Linked DNA regions of Homo sapiens: all the other regions are linked to region 3. Evidence: promoter capture Hi-C in human tissues and cell types (Jung and others, 2019). All regions are on one chromosome and are shown on one strand. The core of a region is centred on a gene start or on the middle of the fragment in contact, and the rest is flanking DNA. Distances in the headings are between cores, read along the strand shown. Region 1 overlaps COBL (cordon-bleu WH2 repeat protein). Region 2 overlaps COBL (cordon-bleu WH2 repeat protein). Region 3 holds the start of FIGNL1 (fidgetin like 1).

What was found. Contacts are between HindIII fragments. The study calls those that stand out against the background at their distance.
Region 1: a fragment that was not itself captured here is called in contact with the fragment with the promoter of FIGNL1 in region 3 in 1 of the 25 tissues and cell types used here (dorsolateral prefrontal cortex).
Region 2: a fragment that was not itself captured here is called in contact with the fragment with the promoter of FIGNL1 in region 3 in 1 of the 25 tissues and cell types used here (mesendoderm cells).

Annotation. Positions count from the first base shown.
Region 1 is chr7:51,244,407-51,247,106 of GRCh38, reverse strand. All of the region lies in intron 1 of COBL (cordon-bleu WH2 repeat protein), which reads left to right. Among named protein-coding and RNA genes, the nearest start is that of COBL, 71 kb to the left of the region's middle. The HindIII fragment of the contact is 5,893 bases long and covers 1-2,700 here.
Region 2 is chr7:51,089,719-51,092,418 of GRCh38, reverse strand. The region is part of intron 6 of COBL (cordon-bleu WH2 repeat protein); the gene reads left to right. Among named protein-coding and RNA genes, the nearest start is that of COBL, 230 kb to the left of the region's middle. The HindIII fragment of the contact is 4,707 bases long and covers 1-2,700 here.
Region 3 is chr7:50,448,928-50,451,627 of GRCh38, reverse strand. It overlaps FIGNL1 (fidgetin like 1), which reads left to right and starts at 1,278. Exons shown (of 4, transcript NM_001287492.4): 1 at 1,278-1,327; 2 at 1,905-2,510. RefSeq lists silencers at 1,132-1,321, 1,463-1,757. The HindIII fragment of the contact is 15,882 bases long and covers 1-2,700 here.

The DNA of each region.
Region 1 (2,700 bases), core at 180-2,679, 800 kb before region 3:
CATGGAAGGGTGCACGGTCACCACAAGATTCCGCGATGACCACAGGTATCCGCTGGTTTTGTGAGGCACTGAGTCCTGCAGGCCCGCACTGCTTGGTGTTTGCAGGGAGGCTGCATCTGTGTTGGCTATGGTGACTTACTGGGGCGTGCTGGGCTCTAATGTTTAGGACTTGGTGGGGACAGGGGTCCACCCTAGGCTATTTTGGGAACACACTCTGATTTTTCTTTGAATCGTTCAATGTAGTCATTTATTGTTCATGTAGTTTAAAAATAATTAAAAATGTAAATGAGTCATCTGCACAAAAAAAGCCCATTTGTTCTTGCCAAACTCTGGAAGAAGTCTGCAAGTATGACAATCTGTGTAACTGATAGAATCTACAAATCAAGGACATCATGGAATTGCAACCACAATAACTCTTTCTTCATAAACATTATAATGCTTCATTAATCAGCGTTTCTGCATTTTATTTGAATGAGATAGAAGTTATATGGCCCAGATCTAATAGCATGGCCTGTGCTACACTGTACGGTGTGCAGGCAGGATTCTCTCTCCACCTCACGGGGGCTGACAGCCAGACCAGCAGGGATGTTGGGGCTGGGACAAGGTCAGGGCTGGGCTGTGTGCCAGGGGAGAATTTTCTCCTGGAGCTTTGGGGAGTGAGCCATGATTGGAAGTGGGATGAGAGGATGGGCAGGAGGCCCAGGGGAGGGGAATTGCTTGGTGCATGTGTCCTGCTGACAACAAACAGCATTTACTATGGGCTTCTGAGCTGTCAGGGACAGAGGAGGCGGCCCCTGCTGATGGAGATGGAGCTCCTGCTTGGATAGACTTGCTGCAGGCCATTTGTCTCCCTGGTCCAAATTATACAAGAAAATGCCATCTTCTTCATAGAGTCTTTTGTCTTTTTATTTCAAGTAGGAAACTTACATACTTGCTTTTCTGCATTAAGGCTAGGATATTTATTTTTTTAGTTTTAAATTCATGGAGTGATAAAAAGAAGTGTGAAATATTTTCTAAATGCTACTAGATATTTTTAGGCCTTTCTACTTAAAAATAAATGACACATACATACCACATGGTATAATTCATAGATATCTTCTTTGCATTTGCAGAGATCTTTGCCATAATGAAAACTAAGTCTTTGGATAATATATTATTTTTGCTAAAATCATTTCCTCACAAAATTTCAAGTTACTCTGCAGGCAGGATTTGTCCCTTACCTAACTTTGTTTTGCATAATTTGATAATGTCAATAAGAAAACTTTAAAAGTGCCCCAATGTTTGAATAGTGCCATATGGTTTGCGAGGTGCCTTTTGCTTATTTCACATCACTTAATCCCAGCCTTGCTTTTAGCTAAACAGTTGTGTCTATCTTATTGCCCCTCTAGAACCTTTCTGAGATCTGAGACCATACACTGTACTATCATTTATGTTATAGACTCCCTAGGAATTACCTTGTAAATGGTAGGTCCTGATACATGTTTGTAGAATGAATGAAACTGTATTTCTAATTTTATATATTTTTATATATCATTTCTTCTATGGATGTAATTCATTCATTGGACAGATACCTGTTGAGCTCACACTTCAGCAAGCTGCTGTTAGCTAGTCTGGTGGTTGAGACAGAATTGTCCAATCCAAGGGAGGAAGGGAATCAGTACAAATGTTGTAGAGCTGTGGAGAAAGTGTTTAGTACCGCAGAATTGGAATCTTAATTTAGGGTTTGCAGAAAATACTTCTAATTTCAGCAGGAGTGGGTAGGGATGAGGAGAAAGTGAAGATGAAAGAGTATGGGCTGGGTTTTAGAAGGGGCTGGTGTTTTGTTGGACTTTGATGGCAATTCCAGGTAGAAGAACAGCATCCACAAGACTCTGGAGATGTGAAAGCAGGAGTTTCAGGGAGCTGTGGACTTGCAGGAGAAGGGCGTGTGGGAGGCAGGGAAGGTCATCATGGGAAGAGGCAACTGATCAGGTCCGTTAGAGTGTGGAGGAAGCCTGGCTGTAAAGGCGCGGGTTTCGGAAGCTATGAGGAAATTGGGACATTGGGTGTAGGGCTCCTCTTTGGAGGCGTTTCCTCTTTTGAATGGAAGGAGGTGTGGAAAGAGGAAGGAAAGAACAGTCTCAGCTAGCGAGCCAAGACAGGGAGAGACTAAAGATAGGAGAGCAGAGAAAAAAATGGGTGAAGCCTTAGAAGAGATGTGAGCTTAGCCCTTTTCTGGAACTGCGTTCCTTGCAGGAACTCCCTGGGGTCTCTGCAGACAGAGGCGTGGTGAAGGTGGAGCCCAGGACAAGAACATGTTGGGCGAGGTCTTCCGGGACTTGGAATGGCTGCAGCAATGATATAATGGGGCTGAGAGCAATGAGCAGGAACATCTACCTGAGGGCCCTGTTGGGGTCACCGCACGTGACTTTGTGGGGAGGGCCTGTTTCCTCTGGCAGTGTCTTGCAGCCTGGGGGAAAGCTGAGGCACTTAGGGATTGGAACTGGAGCATGCTGTGGGTGAGAGAGAGTGGCCGTAGGAGAGGCTGGGCCCCATGAGACCCTATCGGTTTGGTGTGAAAGGGAGGAAGTACCTCTGTATTGTCAAATGGCAGCATCCACACAACTCTCTCTATCTGTGGCCAGAATATAGAGTTCCCTAATTGAAGGTTTTGGACATGTGAGTGGCTATTACAGCAGCCTGGCAAAGAAGGCCGTGTGA
Region 2 (2,700 bases), core at 168-2,667, 640 kb before region 3:
GTAAGGCCTGCAACTATAAAGCTACTAGAAGAAAACATAGAGGGAAGCTCTATGACATTGGCCTCGGCATTGATTTATTGAATGAGTCGACTTCACTTTTGAAATATAGTTTTGCCAGATGAAGCAGTAGTCCCCACCCTTTGTGGCACCAGGGACCAGTTTTGTGGAAGACAATTTTTCCACGGACCAGTGGGGCAGGGATGGTTTCGGGATAAAACTGTTCCACCTCAGATCATCAGACATTAGATTCCCATAAGGAGTGCACAATCTAGATCCCATGCATGCACAGTTCACAATAGGGTTTGCGCTCCTAAGAGAATCTAACGTGGCCACTCATGTGATGTGAGGCAGAGCTCAGGCAGTAATGCTTGTTCACTTACCACTCACCTCTTGCTGTGCAGCTTGGTTCCTATCAAGCCACGAATTGGTACTGGTCTGTGGCCCAGGGTTTGGGAACCCCTGAGATAAACTATTCTTGGTTGGAAGTTTTTAAGTATCCTTGATTGGCAGGTGGCGTTTTTTTTCTCCGTTTTTAGCACTTTGAATATGTCATTCCACCCTCTTCTGGCTTGCAAAGTTTTTACTGAGAAACCTACTGATAATATTATAAGACTCCCTTGAAAGTGATGAATCAATTTCTCTTGCTGTTTTCAAGTTTCTTTCTTTGTCTTTGACTATTGATAGCTTGATTTTAATGAATTGTGGTATGGTCCTCTTTGGGTTTATTCTAGTTGGAGTCCTTTGAGCTTTTAAAATTTTGTATGTCTATTTCCTTCCTCCAATTTGGAGAATTGTCAGACATTACTTCTCCAGATCAACTCTCTGCCCCTTTCTCTCTTCTCCTTCTCTGATCCCCATAATGCATATTTTCATCCCCTTGGCATTGTCCCATAAAGTCCTTAAGGCTGTGTTCAATTTTTGAATTTTTTTTTATTCCTTTACTCAATAATTTCAACTGACCTGTCTTTTAGTTCACTGATTATTTCTTCTTCTTCTTAATACAGCCTGCTGTTGAACTCCTCCAGTGAACTTTTTAGTTCGGTTATTTTATTTTTCAGCTTCAGAACTTCTGTTTTTTATAGTTTCTGTCTCTTTATTGATATGATTCTATTCATGCATAGTTTTGCTGATTTTGTTTAGCTGTCTTTCTGAGTATTCTCTTGTAGTGCACTGAACTTTAATTTTTTTGTCTTTTCTGGCCATAGATTTCCATTTATTGTTATTTCTCTCTAGATGTTTATTTTGTTCCTTTAATTGGGCCATGTTTCCCTGTTTCTTCATGTACCTTGTTATTTTTTAATGTAATTTGTGCATTTGACAAAATAGCCACCTCTTCCAGCCTTTACGGACTGGCTTCTTACAGTGTAATAACATGTCAGTCAGCTCAGCTAGAGATTCTTGGGGCCTCTCAACCCTTTTCTGGATATCCATCTTCCCTGGGCTTGTTGGTGTATTTTCCAATTAGAAGGTTTGCTGATTTCTTCTTTATGAGCTTGTAATCTCGTGCTCTCTCTTGCATCTGTCTATGGTACTGCAGATTTTCTGGCACTGCGGCCAGCTTCTGAGCTCTCTTATTTTCTAAAGCCTTCAGTCATCCATAGTATTTCAGTTTTGTCTGTATTCCTGGTCAACTGAGACAGAAATCAGTCCCTGAACAAGCCTCCCCACAAATCCAGAACATTGCATGTACTTTTTACTCATTTCCTCCCGAGGGATAAGCAGTGAGCTGGGTGCTTTCTCTTGATTGCACTGAGCTGTGCTGGCCTTTGCCTGTGGCACTGGCAGATCTCTGCTGTTGCAACCAGCCTCTGAGCTCCTTTTTTCTCAGTAGCTCCCAGGCATTCAAAGTGTGCCAGTTTCCCATCAGTGCTCCCAGTCAGTCGAGACATAAACTAGTCCCTCAGGCAGCCCCCCTGAAAAGCTGGAATGTTAGATGTACATTCCATTCTTCTCTTTTCTTCCCAAGGGAAAAGCCATGAATTGGGCTTTTCTCCTGCAGACACTGAGCGATACTGGGTTAGGGGAAGGGCTGTCACAGTTGAGGTGAAATGGCTTTTCTTACCCATTTCAGCATGGCCATTCTTGGCATTAAGCTTGCCTATGGTCCTGTGCCTTCTTAACTGGTTTCTGGAGTTCTCATAAAAGCTTCTGGATTACAAATTGCTGTTAAGTTGATGTCTTTGTGGGGAAACTGAGGTGCGGGGCTTCCTTTTCTGCTATCTAGTCAACATCACTTCTTCATGACAAGGAGTCTTAAAATTGAGATAGCAATTTTAGGATCTTGTCTCTTCACTGAATTTTATGTGTTGTATACCTGAGGAGTTTTAGTAAATGGATTTATTGAAAACTCGAAAAATAAAGAGAGAAAAAGAAATGTGAGGAAAAGATAAAATTACAGAGTGTTTTAAGAAGTTTAATTTGTTATTGCCAAAACCAAATAATTTTAATATTTAGCTAAAGGCAATAGGGGCTAATTTAGTTAATTATGGCTCATCAATTCTGTGGAGTACTAGGCAGCCATTAAAAAATAGTTGAAATTCTGCTAAGAGGGTTGATTTTAAGTGTTTTTACCACAAAGGAAAAAAAAAAAGATAAATGGTAATGATGTGAACTGATAGATATGTTAATTAGCTTGCTTGTGATTATTTCACTATAGATATGTATATCAGATCATCAGTTGTATACCATACACACACACAA
Region 3 (2,700 bases), core at 29-2,528:
GATCCGGGTCCCAGTTAGTCAAGGAGATATAAGAGGAAGGCTATGAGGCTTTCTGGGAAACATTTTCTTTTTCCAAGAGAGAAGTGTTCAGAGGGAAAAGGTCCTTTCTCAGTTTGGCTCCCTCTTTGTGTTTTAGATCTGGTCATGTGAGGCTGCCTGGCTTGGATTGTGAGGGCATCTCTCGACAATGAAGTGACAAGCCTGGGGAGGAAAATCCACAGGCGAGAAGGTGGCAGAATGGAGAGATGGTCCTTCATGACTTCTTTGAGTCACCAGGTCCAGATTTCCCGCCAACCTCCAGTCTTCTTGTTATGTGATCTGATATCATTATTTACTGCAGAGGCCACTGAGTGGATGCTCTTACTTGTGTCTGAAAATCCAATTCACTAAATTAATCAAAATACGGCACTCTTCTTTTGAAACCTTGCTCCAGAACAAAGTGGAAGGTAATGATGGGGTGCTTTTCAAAGTTCCAGGGAGGTGTCCCTACACAGCAGACAGCTGTCCAAAGGAATGTAGATGTTGGCTGCGGGGAGATCTGAGTTGCCAGACTCAGTCAGAACAGGTGTCCTCTCCCTTATTTTATCTTAAACATGCATGTCATTTTTGCATGCTACTCTATGCGGTTCTTTCAGCCAGGGAACATTGCTGAGCACCCGCTCACGTGCTGTATGGAGCGCAGACTGCAGGGTGCGAGGGGCGGAGGTGATGTGCTAGGCCTGAATTCAAGAGGGGGCGCAGCCACAGGCCCCGCGATGCCGGGGTGGCCTCTTGTAACGACGTTTTAACCGCTGACCTAAGTGGATCCGCTCCTCTCCCGCCGCCCGCTCCCTGCCTGCAGCACAGGATGGCGGCTGGCTTTCCCGAGTGGGCGCAGGTGAGCCACGCTTGCTCTCCCGGGTGGGCGCAGGTGAGCCATTGTTTGCTCTCCCGGGTGGGCGCAGGAGAGCCACGCTTTGCTCTCCCAGGTGAGCCGCCGCTCGCTGTCCCGGTGAGGGGAAGTGAGCCACGCTCTATGGGAATCCTTCGAATCTTCATTCAATTTCCATCGCCTCCTTGTATTTATTTGGGAGTACTTTTAAAAATGAAGCCTATGCACAATGATGTAATAAGCGTTTATAGAACACCACTGGTCGGAGCTAGGGCCTAGGTGGCGGTGCCCGGGCCCAGGTGCCGCGCCCACGCCCCGCGCGCCGAACGCACGCACGCACGCACTCACGCACTCACGCACGCACGTACGGCGCGAGTCCGAGGGCGACAGCAGCGCGCAGGCGCACGTCAGTCCCCGCGCTTTTCGGAGGCTGCCAGCGTCCCACACCAGCCGCAGGTAGGATGCGGTGACGGGAGGCGGGGCAGGGGCGCTGCTGACCCCTGTGGAGCATCAGGGTTGGGGCGTAGGGGAGAGGCGGGCGTGTGCCTCTGGAATGCTGGGGGTCGCGGGGCGGTGACTTCGCGGGAGGCCGTGGGAGGCGGGAGCCAGGCAGTGGCTGTGCCCTTTTGCTTCTGTCTTAGCGGGAGGGTGGCTGACCCGCTAGCCCAGAACCAGACTCATCCAGGATTAGGAAGCTGGGGCCCGGCGTGGACGGCAGGCTCGGGGCCAGGTCTGCGGGCGGCTTCCTTTGGCAGAGCCTGTCCGGGGGCGGGGCCGCTTACCGCAGGCATTTACTGGGCCCAGCGGGGCTCTGGGCGCCCACAGCGGGGGTCAGTCAGTTCCCCTGTGACCCAGGCAAGCTCTTAATCTCTGTGATGAGAAAGAAGGGCTCATACCTTTCAGGGGTCATCGTGAGGAATCAGAAGAAGCAGTATTTTATAGAGTATTTTCTAAGTGCTGAGTCCTCTGTCTAGTGCTTTGCAGAATTAAAATACCTTGTCAGCTCAGTGATGTTGCTGCGCTTCTTTTATAGGTGAAAACCGGCAGAAAGACATTAAGAGATTTTCCTGCAGTCACTGCTGGCAGATGATAGAGCCAGGATTTGAAAGCAGGCAGCCTGGCTCCAGACCCTGTGCTCTTAACTCCCGTTTTGCATCAAGAACAGAATCCTATGAAAGGCTTGCACAGTGCTTGGTACTGAGTAGGCACTCCGTCAGTATTTTAGTAGCTATTATTCCAAAGGACACTGTATTCTAGGTACTAAGACAATGTGAATGGAATGGAAAACAATTCCTCCCTGCAGAAGCCAACTGTCTAGGAAGACAGATAATGACATTATTAAAATAATCAGAACATTGGCAAAATAAAGAAGATTGAAATGCAGTTCATATGACAGTGCTAATTAATCATACTTTTTAGATCTAGGAAAGGCCATAAAGGTTAAATTGACTTGGAAATGGTAAACAAGACAATGGTTGTGTCACTGATCGGTGATGGCCAGTTTTTGGTTATCCTTATTTGCCATTTAAATGATTGAATTGAAAGGAAGAAGTAAGACTTGGAAGATGAATATTGAAGGAAAGGTGAAGATGGAAAAGAGAAGGGGGTTTATTCTGAGAACAGTGACTAGAACTCTGAGGTATGGTAGAAATTTCAGGATAACAGATGATAAAGGGGAATGAAGCCATGGAGAGGAAGAGAATGATAATATTAATTGTGAAAGTTTGTGTCAAGTGTTTTCTGAGTCACCTTTCTTTCAGTTTCTCATTTCTAGTATTGTATAAATGAGTTTAACATCAAAATGGTATAGTGAAAAAAAGGATGAACTG